Linked DNA regions of Homo sapiens: all the other regions are linked to region 1. The links are contacts of gene promoters, found by promoter capture Hi-C in human tissues and cell types (Jung and others, 2019). All regions are on one chromosome and are shown on one strand. The core of a region is centred on a gene start or on the middle of the fragment in contact, and the rest is flanking DNA. Distances in the headings are between cores, read along the strand shown. Region 1 holds the start of ZNF850 (zinc finger protein 850). Region 2 holds the start of ZFP82 (ZFP82 zinc finger protein). Region 3 has its middle 9.2 kb from the start of ZNF566-AS1.

What was found. Contacts are between HindIII fragments. The study calls those that stand out against the background at their distance.
Region 2: a contact is called between the fragment with the promoter of ZFP82 here and the fragment with the promoter of ZNF850 in region 1, in 1 of the 25 tissues and cell types used here (mesenchymal stem cells).
Region 3: a fragment that was not itself captured here is called in contact with the fragment with the promoter of ZNF850 in region 1 in 2 of the 25 tissues and cell types used here (heart right ventricle and mesenchymal stem cells).

The regions. Positions count from the first base shown.
Region 1 is chr19:36,770,865-36,775,256 of GRCh38, forward strand. It overlaps ZNF850 (zinc finger protein 850), which reads right to left and starts at 1,943. Exons shown (of 5, transcript NM_001193552.2): 1 at 1,861-1,943. It overlaps LOC728485 (a long non-coding RNA gene), which reads left to right and starts at 2,289. Exons shown (of 2, transcript NR_164117.1): 1 at 2,289-2,645. RefSeq lists a silencer at 1,483-1,777 and enhancers at 1,764-1,903, 2,044-2,203. The HindIII fragment of the contact is 7,262 bases long and covers 137-4,392 here.
Region 2 is chr19:36,416,512-36,420,903 of GRCh38, forward strand. ZFP82 (ZFP82 zinc finger protein) reads right to left here and starts at 2,133. Exons shown (of 5, transcript NM_133466.4): 1 at 1,981-2,133. RefSeq lists an enhancer at 1,502-1,661. The HindIII fragment of the contact is 5,247 bases long and covers 1-3,110 here.
Region 3 is chr19:36,496,679-36,501,070 of GRCh38, forward strand. It overlaps the pseudogene CTBP2P7. Among named protein-coding and RNA genes, the nearest start is that of ZNF566-AS1, 9.2 kb to the left of the region's middle. The HindIII fragment of the contact is 8,707 bases long and covers 1-4,392 here.

The sequences.
Region 1 (4,392 bases), core at 693-3,192:
TGGCCCAAGCATTTACTCACAGATGACTGGGCAAATCCCTGGTGTTATTGGTACAAACTATTGATCGAGCCCCCAATCTCATTCCTACCCCTAAAATATAGCAAAGTGAAAGATCTTATCACTTATTTGGACTGAGATTAACACCATCCCATAAACTGCATGGCTTTCAATCCCAGGGCTATGGCGTGTGATGCCACATAGAATATGCACTAATCTCTGCAGCAATTGAGTTGTTAGGGTAAAGGCTCTTGTTTTTGCCTTCTTTCTCTCACGGCCAAGAAAATTAAGGAACAGGGACACAAAGGATGAGGTCGGAGCGGAAGTTTAATAAGCAAAAGAAGAAAGCTCTCCCCAGCGGAGGGACCCAAAAGAGGGTTGCCAACTAGGAGGCTGAATCTGGGGGGGTTTATTAACTGGGAAGGGGAGGAACGTGGGCTGTCTTGAAGAAAGCACTACCCAGCTTGGCCCTGGGACCTTAGCCCGGGACCAATCCCAGGCTGAAGTGAAAGTTTGGCCCAGGACCAATCAGGGGCTGAAGTGAAAGTTTGGCCCGGGACCAATCAGGGGCTGAAGTGAAAGTTTGGCCCGGGACCAATCAGGAGCTGAAGTGAAAGTTTGGCCCGGGACCAATTAGGGGCTGAAGTGAAAGTTTGGCCCGGGACCAATCAGGAGCTGAAGTGAAAGTTTGGGCCGGGACCAATCAGGAGCTGAAGTGAAAGTTTGGCCCGGGACCAATCAGGGGCTGAAGTGAAAGCTTGGCCCGGGACCAATGAGGGGGTGAAGTTATGATTCAAAGAGGCCGCGCTCACAGTCTAAAGCATGTCCAAAAAAGGAAAGTGGCCGCCGGAACCTGTTAGTCCAAGCTGCACCGTTTCGTAAGCCCCCACCATTTCACAGACCCTGGTCAGAGGGAAACATTCCACCCGGGTTTGGGCTGTGCGAAACATCCTTCCCAACCGCCTGACTTCCTTATCACATCCTGCTGGGCAAAAGCCCAAGAAACATCCTTATCAACTTTCTCCCAGGCAACAAGCCATACCGCCCAGACCCCTCCTGCCCAGGCCTGTAATTACCCCAGCCTGGAAGCGGCAGTGGGCTCTGGCATTTAGTTGGTCCCCGCCATAGAGCCGCCAACTCTCTCTCTTTCTTTAACCCTCGCCTTCCCTTCAAAATCTAACAGAGCCCACCGTGTACATGCCCACAAAAGAAGCGACTATTTCGTGGAAGCCCGCTGGTCACACAAAGGACAAAGGCGTTTCTATGTTGGGCCTCGGTCCCTTATCAGTGCAGCTGAGGAATGTCTTCAGGACAACCCCCCTGTGGAGTTTTCCTTATGTATGCCTGCAGCCTGATTTTTCAGGCTGTTTCTCTGTTTAAAGGACTTTTACCAAGGTCCCACCCTAACTGCCTAAAGAGTTTTTTCTCTCAAGGGGACACACAAAGTCCCAATCGCACACATGCCTCCGCATATCCACTTACCCACTGCCTCACAGCCAATCACACTCTCCTCTCTCACATACACCAAGGGGCCACACAAGTTGCACTTGCACAGCCACAGACCTGCAACTCACGCACACAAGGTACTGCACAGACACGCAAAGTCACACACCCACCCCGGGACACGCAGTCCAACCACACAGTCACCGGTTCTTCACATCCGCACGCACAACGAGGGTCGTCCAGGACACACACACCCACTCCGGGCGCGCACAGTCACAAGCGCCCACCTGATCACCCAGAGTCAGCACCACACAGCCACAGTCACAGACCACGGAGACCCACGGCAGCCATCGCGATCACACACGCAAACTCCTCTCCTCAGCCCTCCACACACAAAAGGACCGGAGCCGGATTCCTCACCCTCAGCATTCTCTGGTTCCGCTCGGGGCCAGCCTAGCCAAGTTCCTCAGGACTCCAAGGCGCGGCGGCAGCTAAATCGGCACAGCAAACGGTCCCGCCACCTGGCTAAGAGGAAGCCAAAATCTCGCGAGACGTGGCGTCGGCCTGCGGGATCCTCTGGGAAATGTAGTCCAGAGCCCGACTGCGGGCTTCCCTATGCCTCTCATTTCCAAGCCTGGCTTGTTTCCTTTTACCGCTCCTCTCCAACGAGGATCGCAGAGCCCTCATGCCGAGCGGCTCGCTATGGGGCCGGCTCGCCCGCTAGAGTGGTCAGGCCTGATTATCCCTGGCAGCTCTGTTATCTGGGGTAAGACACAGGAAAACGTGCTTCCGGTTCTCGGCGGAAGTAGCCCCGAACGGTAGAACCGATGGGAAATGTAGTCCAGGGCAGAAAAGCGGTCAACCCAGCCACGATGCGAGCCAAAGGATTCTTGGCTCCAAGCCTGGTCCTGGCTGTTAGTTTGGAACTCATGCACCCAGATGCTAACTCGCCCTCAGAATGCAGAGGGGATGAAACACTGACCGGACAATTCAATCTGTATATGGGTGAGTCCAGGGCTCAGTCTGCATTGCGCGGAAAATGAAGGTGAAGGTGGAGGTGGGACCTGATGGTCTCGTCCCGGATAGGGTTGAAGAAGTGGGAGAAAAGGAATCAAAATCGTGGATGGGATAAGATTGTGCGCGAATGCTCTCTGGGAGCGGATCGTGGCCGACGAGGGCCCGAAGATGCTGCCTTGTGATCGCAGGTGTGAGTGGAAGCTGTGTGAGTGTCAATGTGAGTTGCCTGTTTGGGAGACCAGCATTGTATTTTTGTATCAGGTAGTAACCTTGGAGCCAGGTATTTGTAAAATTATGATAAGAGGGCATCATTCTGGAGCATCGATTTTATTTGGAGGTTGACAGGAGAGGGAAAAAAACCCCTAATATCTGATAAACAACATAAATAGATTTTTATGTTAAAGTAGTTATATTTATTACGGTCTAGAATGCAAATCCAACATGGCTTTTAAAGCAAGAAAGATTTTTTTTATACAAAGTCAAAGGTATTATTTTTATACACTTACTACAAAACATACAAATAGTATACCAAGCCTAAGAATATAAAGAGTCTAGCTTTAATTAATTGAATGTAAATTTAAAAACAAGCATCTAATAAGTAGTCCTTTTCACACATCGAAAAGCCAATTTCGGAATTTTTTTAAAAACTCAAATTACAAAGTAACAAATATCTGGTGTCTTAGTAACTTGAAGATCAGTACTAATGATTAAGCCAGCTTATATGCTAATATGATACATGAAAAAGCCTGTATTTCACAAATAGCAAACCACTAAAACTTTAATTTTCCACAGAAGCCATTGTTTCACACCAATAATTATGTTAAAGATCAAGACAGGCTAAAAGTTTTTAATGAGCACTGAATCCATTAAAACTTGGCAAATTTTTCCACGAAGGTAGAATTTTAATTTCTGTTTAAACCATGGGTAGATGGTACACCCTTGTGAGGGTGTACTGTAAGTACTTCTAAGGAGCTTTATCAGACTTCATCCCAAATTATGTACCTAGTAAAAGATGTACCAATGTCTACTTTGGAATAAGAAATTATTCCTTGTTTGAGCAAGGATTAAGCAGAAACTGAAAGAAGTGTAGTTTATAGCTTCTTACATAAAGTAGATGGGCACCCCTCAAAAACAAACCAATATCCTGGCTCCTTAAATATCAACATTAATCTAAATAATGTATAGCATGCTCCTGTCCAATCTTTCCCGCTCATTTGTAGTCTTCTCAGATCGATGCTTCATTTTAGTCACACATTTCTATCCTGCAAGACTGGGTACCTGGGCTTTTTGTCTGGTTTTGTAACACTAGGCAGTTTTGGCCTTACTCAAAATATAAGACTGCAAAAGGCCTGTTTTACCTCAACCATACGGCTTCAGGAAATGGTCTGTATTTCCAACAGAAAAGTGGTATCTAACTCTCAGGATGGTTTCTAACAACTGGATAGATACCTGGGTCTTTGCGGCCTGTGATGCAGCCTAACAATACAGGACCTTGTGTGATCAGCTAGGTCTGCTAAAGCAAGGGGACATCCATGTTCTAGATTTTTATTTATTTATTTTTTTTTGAGACGGAGTCTTGCTCTGTCGCCCAGGCTGGAGTGCAGTGGCGTGATCTCGGCTCACTGCAAACTCCGCCTCCCGGGTTCAAGCCATTCTCCTGCCTCAGCCTCCTGAGTAGCTGGGACTACAGGCGCCCGCCACCACGCCCGGCTAATTTTTTGTATTTTTCGTAGAGACGGGGTTTCACCGTATTAGCCAAGATGGTCTCGATCTCCTGACTTCGTGATCCGCCCGCCTTGGCCTCCCAAAGTGCTGGGATTACAGGCGTGAGCCACCTCGCCCGGCCCATGTTCTAGATTTTTTATTCTGGTTTAGCAGGATCCAAACTGCCTGTCCTGAAGAGACTCTCTTTCTCTTCCATACAACGGCTGGCCT
Region 2 (4,392 bases), core at 883-3,382, 350 kb before region 1:
TTTGGGAGGCCAAGGCGGGCAGATCACCTGAGGTCGGGAGTTCAAGACCAGCCTGACCAACATGGAGAAACCCCGTCTCTACTAAAAATACAAGATTAGGCAGGCGTGGTGGTATATGCCTGTAATCCCAGCTACTAGGGTGGCTGAGGCAGGAGAATCGCTTGAACCTGGGAGGCGGAGGTTGCGGTGAGCTGGGATCACACCATTGCACTCCAGCCTGGGAAATAAGAGCGAAACTCCGTCTCAAAAAAAAAAAAAAAAAAAAGAATTCCTGTTCTAGGCTGGGGGCGGTGGCTCATGCCTGTCATTCCAGCACTTTGGGAGGCCGAGGCAGGCAGATCACTTGAGGCCAGGAGTTTGAGACCAGCCTGGCCAACATGGTAAAACCCGGTCTGTACTAAAAATACAAAAATTAGCTGGGTGTGGTGGTGCAGGCCTGTAATCCCAGCTACTTGGGAGGCTGAGGTATAAGAATCGCTTGAACCACGGAAAGGGAGGTTGCAGTGAGCTGAGATTGTGCCACTGCACTCCAACCTGGGTGACAGAGCAAGACCCTGTCTCAAAAAAAAAAAAAAAAAAAAAAAAAAAGAATTCCTGTTTTAGACTATTTAAGCATCTGATCTGGCTCATTTATTTTTTACTAGGAAATACTCACCACAATTGGCTTAGTATTTTCATTTTCCCCCCATCTATAGAAGGCTGATGTAGAATTGCTCCAAATCACTACTTAAGAATACATAACTAAGGTTTATTAAGTACTAACGAGGTCTCAGGAACTGTTCTAAGAACTTTACACATAGTAATTAAAAGAAGGCCCACAGAAGTAATGAAAAACATCTACCAAATGGGTATGTGCATACAGGCTCTCGGGAGGGGACCTAGGTATCAGCTCAATGGACAGGACATTTATGGAGAATGAAACAAATATTCTCATGTCCTAAGAAATAAGAATGCATTTCACAGAAGAAAGCAGAAACACCCACTCGCCTCGACCTTGACTTAAACAGGCAACAGCAATTCATTCCTCCTCCCGCTCGGACCCCTTTTCTTAAAGAATTGGGCAGGACTGGCTAATAAGGGAACCAGGCTTTTCTTGCAGCCCAGCCTCGCATAGGGCACAATGCCCCCACCGCCCACCCACACATAACCAGAGTAACATAAGAGAGATGGTGTTGTTAACTCTTCCCAGTATCAAAGAAAGGCCAGGGTCATGGATGCCCGGGGCTAGAACTGGAGTTCACAATAGCTTCCTGGAAGCAATGCTGTGGTTCTGAAACCTGCAGCTGGACTCTTCAGAGTTGTGAGTGCACGTGCGTGGGTCCGGGTCCGCGAGGAGGTGGTGTGGGAGTCCCTTCCAGGAGCAAGCCTGGGCGGGAGCGGGGGCTCGTTCAGTTCTAATATTCCTATCCCAAGGTCGGGTCTGAGCCTTGTTTCGCTGTTGCCCAGGCTGGAGAGTAGTGGTGCTATCATAGCTCGCTGCAGCCTCAATCTCCTCCTAGGCTCAAGCCATCCTCCCGCCTCAGCCTCTCGAGTGGCTGGGACCACAGGAGCACGCCATCACACCCGGCTCATTTTTTAAATTTCTGGTACAGATGGGAGTTTCGCTTTGCTGCCCAGGCTGGTCTCGAACTCCTGGCTTCCAGCGATCCTCCCGCCTCGCTCTCCCAGAGCTCTGGGATTACAGATGTGAGCCACCTGGTCCGGCCTAGTCTGCGCGTTTCTGCTGGGAGTCTTTGGCGTGCAGAAACTGACCGAGGGCCATTTCTCTGCAGCTGGGCCCGGTGTGGGCAGAGGATGCTGGGGTCAGTCACGCACTCCACGGCCACAACAACCTTCGCTCATACAATAGTCTCTGCACCCAAGTCAGCCGCACAGACTCCGTCACGTCCCAGCCCCGGCCCCGTCACGCCCACGACACACACACCCGGGCCTGAGGCGCGGGCTCCCGCCCCTCTGCGATACTGCAGTGGCCCCGCTTACCTCTCTTTACCCCCTGGGCCGCAGCGCTTTTCCTACAGATTACCAGGACCGACGCTCCGGGCCAGGACTGCTCACTCGGGGCGCGAACCCGAGGCACAGCGATGCCCGAACGGAGGAAGCCGCTGCCGGGTCACGCCACAATCCCCGGGGCCTAACGGGCTGCGCGCGGAGGCTGCTGGGAGGGCCGGGCGCGCTCACGGAGTGCGCAGGCGCGGCCAGTCTCAAGGGTCCGCTCGCTGGTGCAGCCCCTGCTCTGCGTGAACCCGGAGCCGGAGCTAGGTCCGTCCCAGCGAGGCTGCGCTTCGAGTCCCTTAGCGCCTGGGGACGGCGCGGCAGGGCCTGGAGGGGAGCGGGGACAGATGGCTGGCGCGTTAAAGAGGGGCGCCCGCGACCGCCTCTCTATAGTGCCAACTAGGGAGCCCTGTGAGCGAGGACGGCGCTGCGAGTCTGTCCCTGGCGCGCTCCTGGGTGGGATTCTTTCACTGGGTGTGGCTGTTGGGATTTGAGACCGTGTGACTCCGGAGATTCGGGGAAGCCAGTTCCTATATTTTCCATTTCTGTATTTTTAAATGGTAAAAACAATGAAAAGGAGAACAATATTTTGTGAAATATGAAAATCATACATGTCAAATTTCAGTGTCCATAAATAAAAGTTTTATTGGAACATAGCCGTGTTTGATTGTGTACTGTCTATTGCTATATTTGAGCTACAAGGACAGACTCGAGTAGTTACACAGACCAGATGGCCCACGCAGCCTAAAATACAGTCAGTTCTCACTATTCACAGTAGTTATGGTCTATAAACTTGCTACAAACACGGAATTAGTGAATACCATTCCACTGCTTCTAGGGGAAATACAGGGTTAGTTTCCTGTAAGCATCTGGTCACATTTTAGTCAACCGATGAATGCATAAGCTTATTTTATTGTGTTTATTTTCTTTTTTTCTTTTTTTTTTTTTTTTTTGAGATAGGGTCTTGCTCTGTCACCCAGGCTGGAGTGCAGTGGTGGGATCTTGGCTCACTGCAACCTCCTCCGCCTCCCGGGTTCCAGCAATTCTCCTGCCTCAGCCCCCAGAGTAGCTGGGAATACAGATGCATGTCACCATGCCCAGCTGATTTTTGTATTTTGTAGAAACGGAGTTTCACCATGTTGACCAGGCTGGTCTCAAACTCCTGACCTCAGGTGATCCACCCGCCTTGGCCTCCCAAAAGTGCTGGGATTATAGGCATGAGCCACCGCGCCTGGCCTTATTGTGTTTCTATTTAAACACTTTAATATATATTATTGATTCATTAACATTGAACTCATGGCCAACAGCTCCATAACTCATGCCTGAATGAAGCTTATCTAACACATGTATTTTTTCTGTAAGACACATGACCGCTTTCTCATTCATAGGAACATCAACAGCACTTTAGTACTACTACATTTGGGGTCCCTTTGAAACAGCAAAATCACCAGCAAAAAACAAAAATATGAGAAGCCAAGGTACTAAATGGACTGCAAAAAGGGTACCTGTTTACAGTATGAGAGCTGAAATAAGAAGATAGAGGGTCACTTTGTTTGACTTTGGCTGAGAACATGCCTGTTAAGGGACTCAAAAAGGTTCACCGCTCTTCGGATGTCCACAAATGACCACAAAGGTGCTGCAAATATTGACTCTGGGTTTATAAAAAAGTTTTAGCAAGTAGATGAATTCACAAATTCAGAATCTGTGAATGAAGATTGACTGTATTTACTATCAGGCCCTTTAAAGAAAAAGTTTGCCAATCCCTGTTTTTATATGTCCCTCTTAGTTATACAGCTAGTGTTTAAAAACTACTTGAAATAATTATTTTCCCTGTGCCACCAATTATGTCTATAATTGATTGTACCCCATTAAATAAGCACAAAGAAAAAAGAAAGCTTTCTTTATAGAAGAAGGCCAGCTAATAACTATCAAGGGTTTGATTTTACGTGGCTTAGACACGCTGCTTCAAATGCATTTAAGATGTTTGGTTTTAACAAGGATTTTGCAACAGTATAGTGTTTTCCTTAAGTTCAATGTCATTTCTATGTCATGGCAGCTGTCACCTGCAGTTAGGTAAGACAGTGACATCATTAACATGGATGCATTTTCATGGCATGAAGGCTAGCCATTGATGGGGTAATATAACACAATTTATCAGTAAACGCTGAGTTTTCTTTGAAGTCAGTCTCTGATTTCTTACAGTGCTTGATGTCTGCCTTGCCTGCTAGTGACCAATTCCCCTGCGTCTTTACAGAGCCTTGTTACTCACTCAGTGTAAAGACAGTGGGGGAAACAAGGTTTCCCAAAGTATCCTTATGTGCAAAAGTGTTTCTTACTACTTTGGAAATACTAAGCTGAGTTTAATGTTTATTCTTTTTCTACCAACAGACACAAAAAGGA
Region 3 (4,392 bases), core at 654-3,153, 270 kb before region 1:
TAACACACAATAACGGAAGTCGGTTGTTAGTAAATCACATCCTAGTCTTTCAGCACTTCCATAAGAGACGACATCTTCAGTTGTCTAGTTCTTGTAGTTTTAGCACGGCAACATCAATGATGCCTATGTCCAGAATCAGTTAAAAAGACCATAATTTGTTTCTCTTAGTTCATCTATTTTTCACTGGCTCATGGTCCCAAGTGTATCTGAATGATTACCTTTGGGCATTCTCTGCTATTGCTTATTAGGGTGCTGTCGATTGTCCCCATGTTTTGTGGGCTGGTTGGGAAGGGGAGCTTGGGAAGGATGTGTCACTCTCAGGAGGTTGTAAGTCATTGGGACGCCTCCAGGGATGATTCCTTCCATGGCTGCAGGAAGTCCTCCTGGAGCCACGCCCACGATGCCTGGCGGATATCTGTATGTTGCACCGTTGAGCTCGGGATGAATTGCTTGCTGGTCTATTGCTGACCAAGGCGCTGATGTGACAAATAACTCCTTGTTCACACAGTTTCTTAAGCTTTCTGGGACGCGACCTGTGATGACTCGGCGGATCTCGGTGGCAGCTGCCTCCTTCATCTCCAGTGACGCCTGCATGCTGTCCTAGGCAGTGTGAGGAGTGAAGATGAGATTTGGCGCATCTTTCAACGGAGTCTGAGCAAAGCTAAAGGGCTCCGATTCGTGCAAGCCAAGGGCTGCCCCTCCTATCCTGTCCTCCTTGAGGACCTGTGCTAAGGCTTTCTCATCCACCAGGCCACCATGGGCTGCGTTCACAAGGAATGCTCCCTGTCTCATCTGCTTTATAGTAAAGTCATTGACGAGGTGGTGGTTATGTTCATTGAGATTGCAGTGCAACGAGACACAGTCACTCTGATACAGCAAACCCTGCAGGGTGTATCAGGGTCCCCTCTGCATGCCCTGGGACCTCTCTATCTTGTCCTACAAGTAGGGGTCATAAAATACGACGCTGAATCCAAAGGCCTTGGCTCAAACTGCAACCGCCTGCCTCATGCAACCGAAGCCCATGAGGCCTAGCGTCTTCCACGAATGAGGGCCACTCCCATGGCCACCTCGAGAATCTGCTCCACGCTCTGAACCCGCGCGCCTTCCCACAGTGTCTGGTACAGCCACATATTCCTCCGGCAGAGATTGAGGATGTGGCAGATAGTGGAGTTGGCTGCCTCTTCCACGGCTGTGGAGGGGATGTTGCACATAGTAATCCGGAGCTCACTGGCAGCCTTGATGTCCACGTTGTCGTAGCCACTTGCCTATCCACACGATCACTCTCAGGGCCTTGAACTTCTCCAGGTCCTCCCTTGTTTAGAATCTTCTCGTGGATCTCCTGCGTGGACTGTGCGTCACAGAAGGCCACAGTGGCCAGGTCCTTCAGGATGGGCATCTCCACGGTGCAGGTCACAGCCATCCAGCGGCGCCAGCAGCGGGAGGGGGTGCAGGGGGCTGTTCGTGATCTGAGGGTGGATAGCTTCACAAGTTCTGTCCAATCGCTGTCTCGTGATTTTGTGCTTATCCACCAGGGCCATTCTTTATGGAACTTTGCAACTCTCAGATCAAAAGGCAAAGCAGGCCTGGCATGGTGCCTCATGCCTGTAATCCCAGCACTTGGGAGGCTGAGGCAGGCAGATCACTTGAGGTCAGGAGTTTGAGACCAGCCTGGCCAACATGGGGAAACACCATCTTTACTAAAAATATAAAAATTAGCTGGGCATGGTGGCGCGCTCCTGTAATCCCAGCTACTCGGGAGGCTGAGGCAGGAGAATCACTTGAACCCGGGAGTCAGAGGTTGCTGTGAGCTGAGATCATGCCACTGCACTCCAGCCTGAGTGGCAGAGTGAGACTCTGTCTCCAAAAACCAAACCAAAACAAACAACAACAACAAAACAAAAGGCAAAGCAGTCCTCTAAAAACTTACGGAAACTCGCAGGAGTGTGTGTGCATGACGCCACTATGAACCCAATACATATCTGTCCACAAACTCTATAGTTCACAGGATGGGCTGTCCATCTTTTCTTTCTTTCTTTCTTTCTTTTTGTCGCCAGGCTGGAGTGCAGTGGCGCGATCTCAGCTCACTGCAATCTCCACCTCCCGGGTTCAAACGATTGTCCTGCCTCAGCCTCCTGAGTAGCTGGGATTACAGGTGCACACCACCACACCTGGCTATTTTTTGTATTTTAGTAGAGACGGGGTTTCACCATGTTGGACAGGATGGTCTCGATCTTCTGAACTCGTGATCCACCTGCCTTGGCCTCCCAAAGCGCTGGGATTACAGGTGTGAGCCACTAGCTGTCCATCTTTTTAAGGGAATGCAGCTTCGTCAGTTCAAAAACATTTAAGGTGATGAAACCCTCGTCCTGGGCAGTCAGCATCCACAGCGGAAAGGCTCCCGCCCCTCCCACCCCACCTGGAGGCTGTGCTGCCTCAGTTCAGTGCAGCATGGCTCCTGGTTCAGTCCTTCGCTCCTCGGGCCGCTCCCAAGCCACCTTAAAATGACACACTGAATTTGGATTATTATTATTATCTTTTTTTTTTTCAGACAGAGTCTTGCAGTTGTCGCCCAGGCTGGAGTGCAGTGGCGCAATTTCGGCTCACTGCAACCTCCGCCTCCTGGGTTCAAGCAATTGTCCTGCCTCAGCCTCCCAAGTAGCTGGGATTACAGGCACCTGCCACCACGCCCAGCTAATTTTTGTATTTTTGGTAGAGACGGGGTTTCACCATGTTGGCCAGGCTGGTCTTGAACTCCTGACCTCAGGTGATCCACCCTCCTTGGCCTCCCAAAGTGCTAAGATTACAGGTATGAGCCACCAACCCTGGTCTAAACATTTATTTTTTTAATTTCTTTTTTCTTTTTTTTTTTCTTTTTTGAGACAGAGTCTCACTCTGTTGCCCAGGCTGGAGTGCACTGGCACGATCTCAGCTTACTGCATCCTCTGCCTCCCGGGTTCCAGTAATTCTCCTGCCTCAGCCTCCAGAGTAGCTGGGACTACAGGTGCCCGCCACCATGCCCAGCTAATTTTTGTACTTTTAGTAGAGACAGGCTTTCACCATATTGGCCAGGCTGATCTCGAACTCCTGACCTTGTGATCTGCCTGCCTCGGCCTCCTAAAGTGCTGGGATTACAGGCGTGAGCCACTGTGCCCGGCTATTTTTTATTTTTTTGAGACGGACTCTCGGCTCACTGCAAACCTCTGCCTCCTGGGTTCAAGCGATTCTCCTGCCTCAGCCTCCTGACTAACTGGATTACAGGCATGTGCCACCATGCCTGGTTAATTTTTGTATTTTTAGTAGAGACGGGGTTTCACCATGTTGGTCACGCTAGTCTCGAACTCCTGACCTGGTTATCTGCCCGCCTCAGCTTCCCAAAGTGCTGGGATTACAGGCGTGAGCCACCGCGCCCGGCCCCAAACATTTATTATTAATTATTCTTCATATTACATTTCCAGGATCTACTATATATTTTTTATATTTTCATTTTATTTTTAATTAAGAAGTAATAATTGCATGTATTTATGGGGTACAATTTGATGTGTACATTGTATACATCGTGATGTGTACACAATGACACGTGTACATTGTGGAATGATTGAATCAGCTTTTCCAAGTGTGTTTCCTTCTCAGCACCTCCAAACCTCTCCTCAAGTTAACCCCAGGCCTTGAGAGAAACAAAGTGCTCTCCCTTAAACTGGGTCGCTTTGGTTCTCAGTGGAAAGTTGAGTCACAGAGGGAGGCTCTCTTTCATGTGCTTGGGTTTCACTCACTTTTATCAGCTGGACACTGCCGCAGGGGCTGATTGCTCCCACTCCCTTCCCCAGGTTCTGGGTTATCGTTCATGATTCCAGTGGATTTCCATTTTTCTTCTTGAAATAAAGTACATGGAGTTTATCTTTATGCACTATCATGCTATCCCCAAGTGACTGAGGCATTCTCTAATCTGCCATCTTGGAGGAAGAAAAGTTTTAACTTTGATATCACAGTTTACATATAATTTGTATCAATTAACAAATTATTGTAGCTATGGGTGTTTTGTAGTAGTTTTGTCTTTTTTTTTTTTTTAAGTCAGAGTCTTGCTCTGTTGCCCAGGCTGTTGTGCAGTGGCGTGATCTTGGCTCACTGCACCCTACACCTTCCAGGTTCAAGCAATTCTCCTGCCTCAGCCTCCCAAGTAGCTGGGACTACAGGTGCGTGCCATCATGCCCGGCTAATTTTTTGTAGTTTTAGTAGAGATGGGGTTTCACCATGCTGGGCAGGCTGGTCTTGAACTCCTGACCTCGTGATCCCCCTGCCTGGGCCTCCCAAGTGCTGGGATTATAGGCGTGAGCCACCGCGCCTGGCCACCAGTTTTGTCTTTTAATCTTCAAACTAGAGAGAGAATTGATTTAC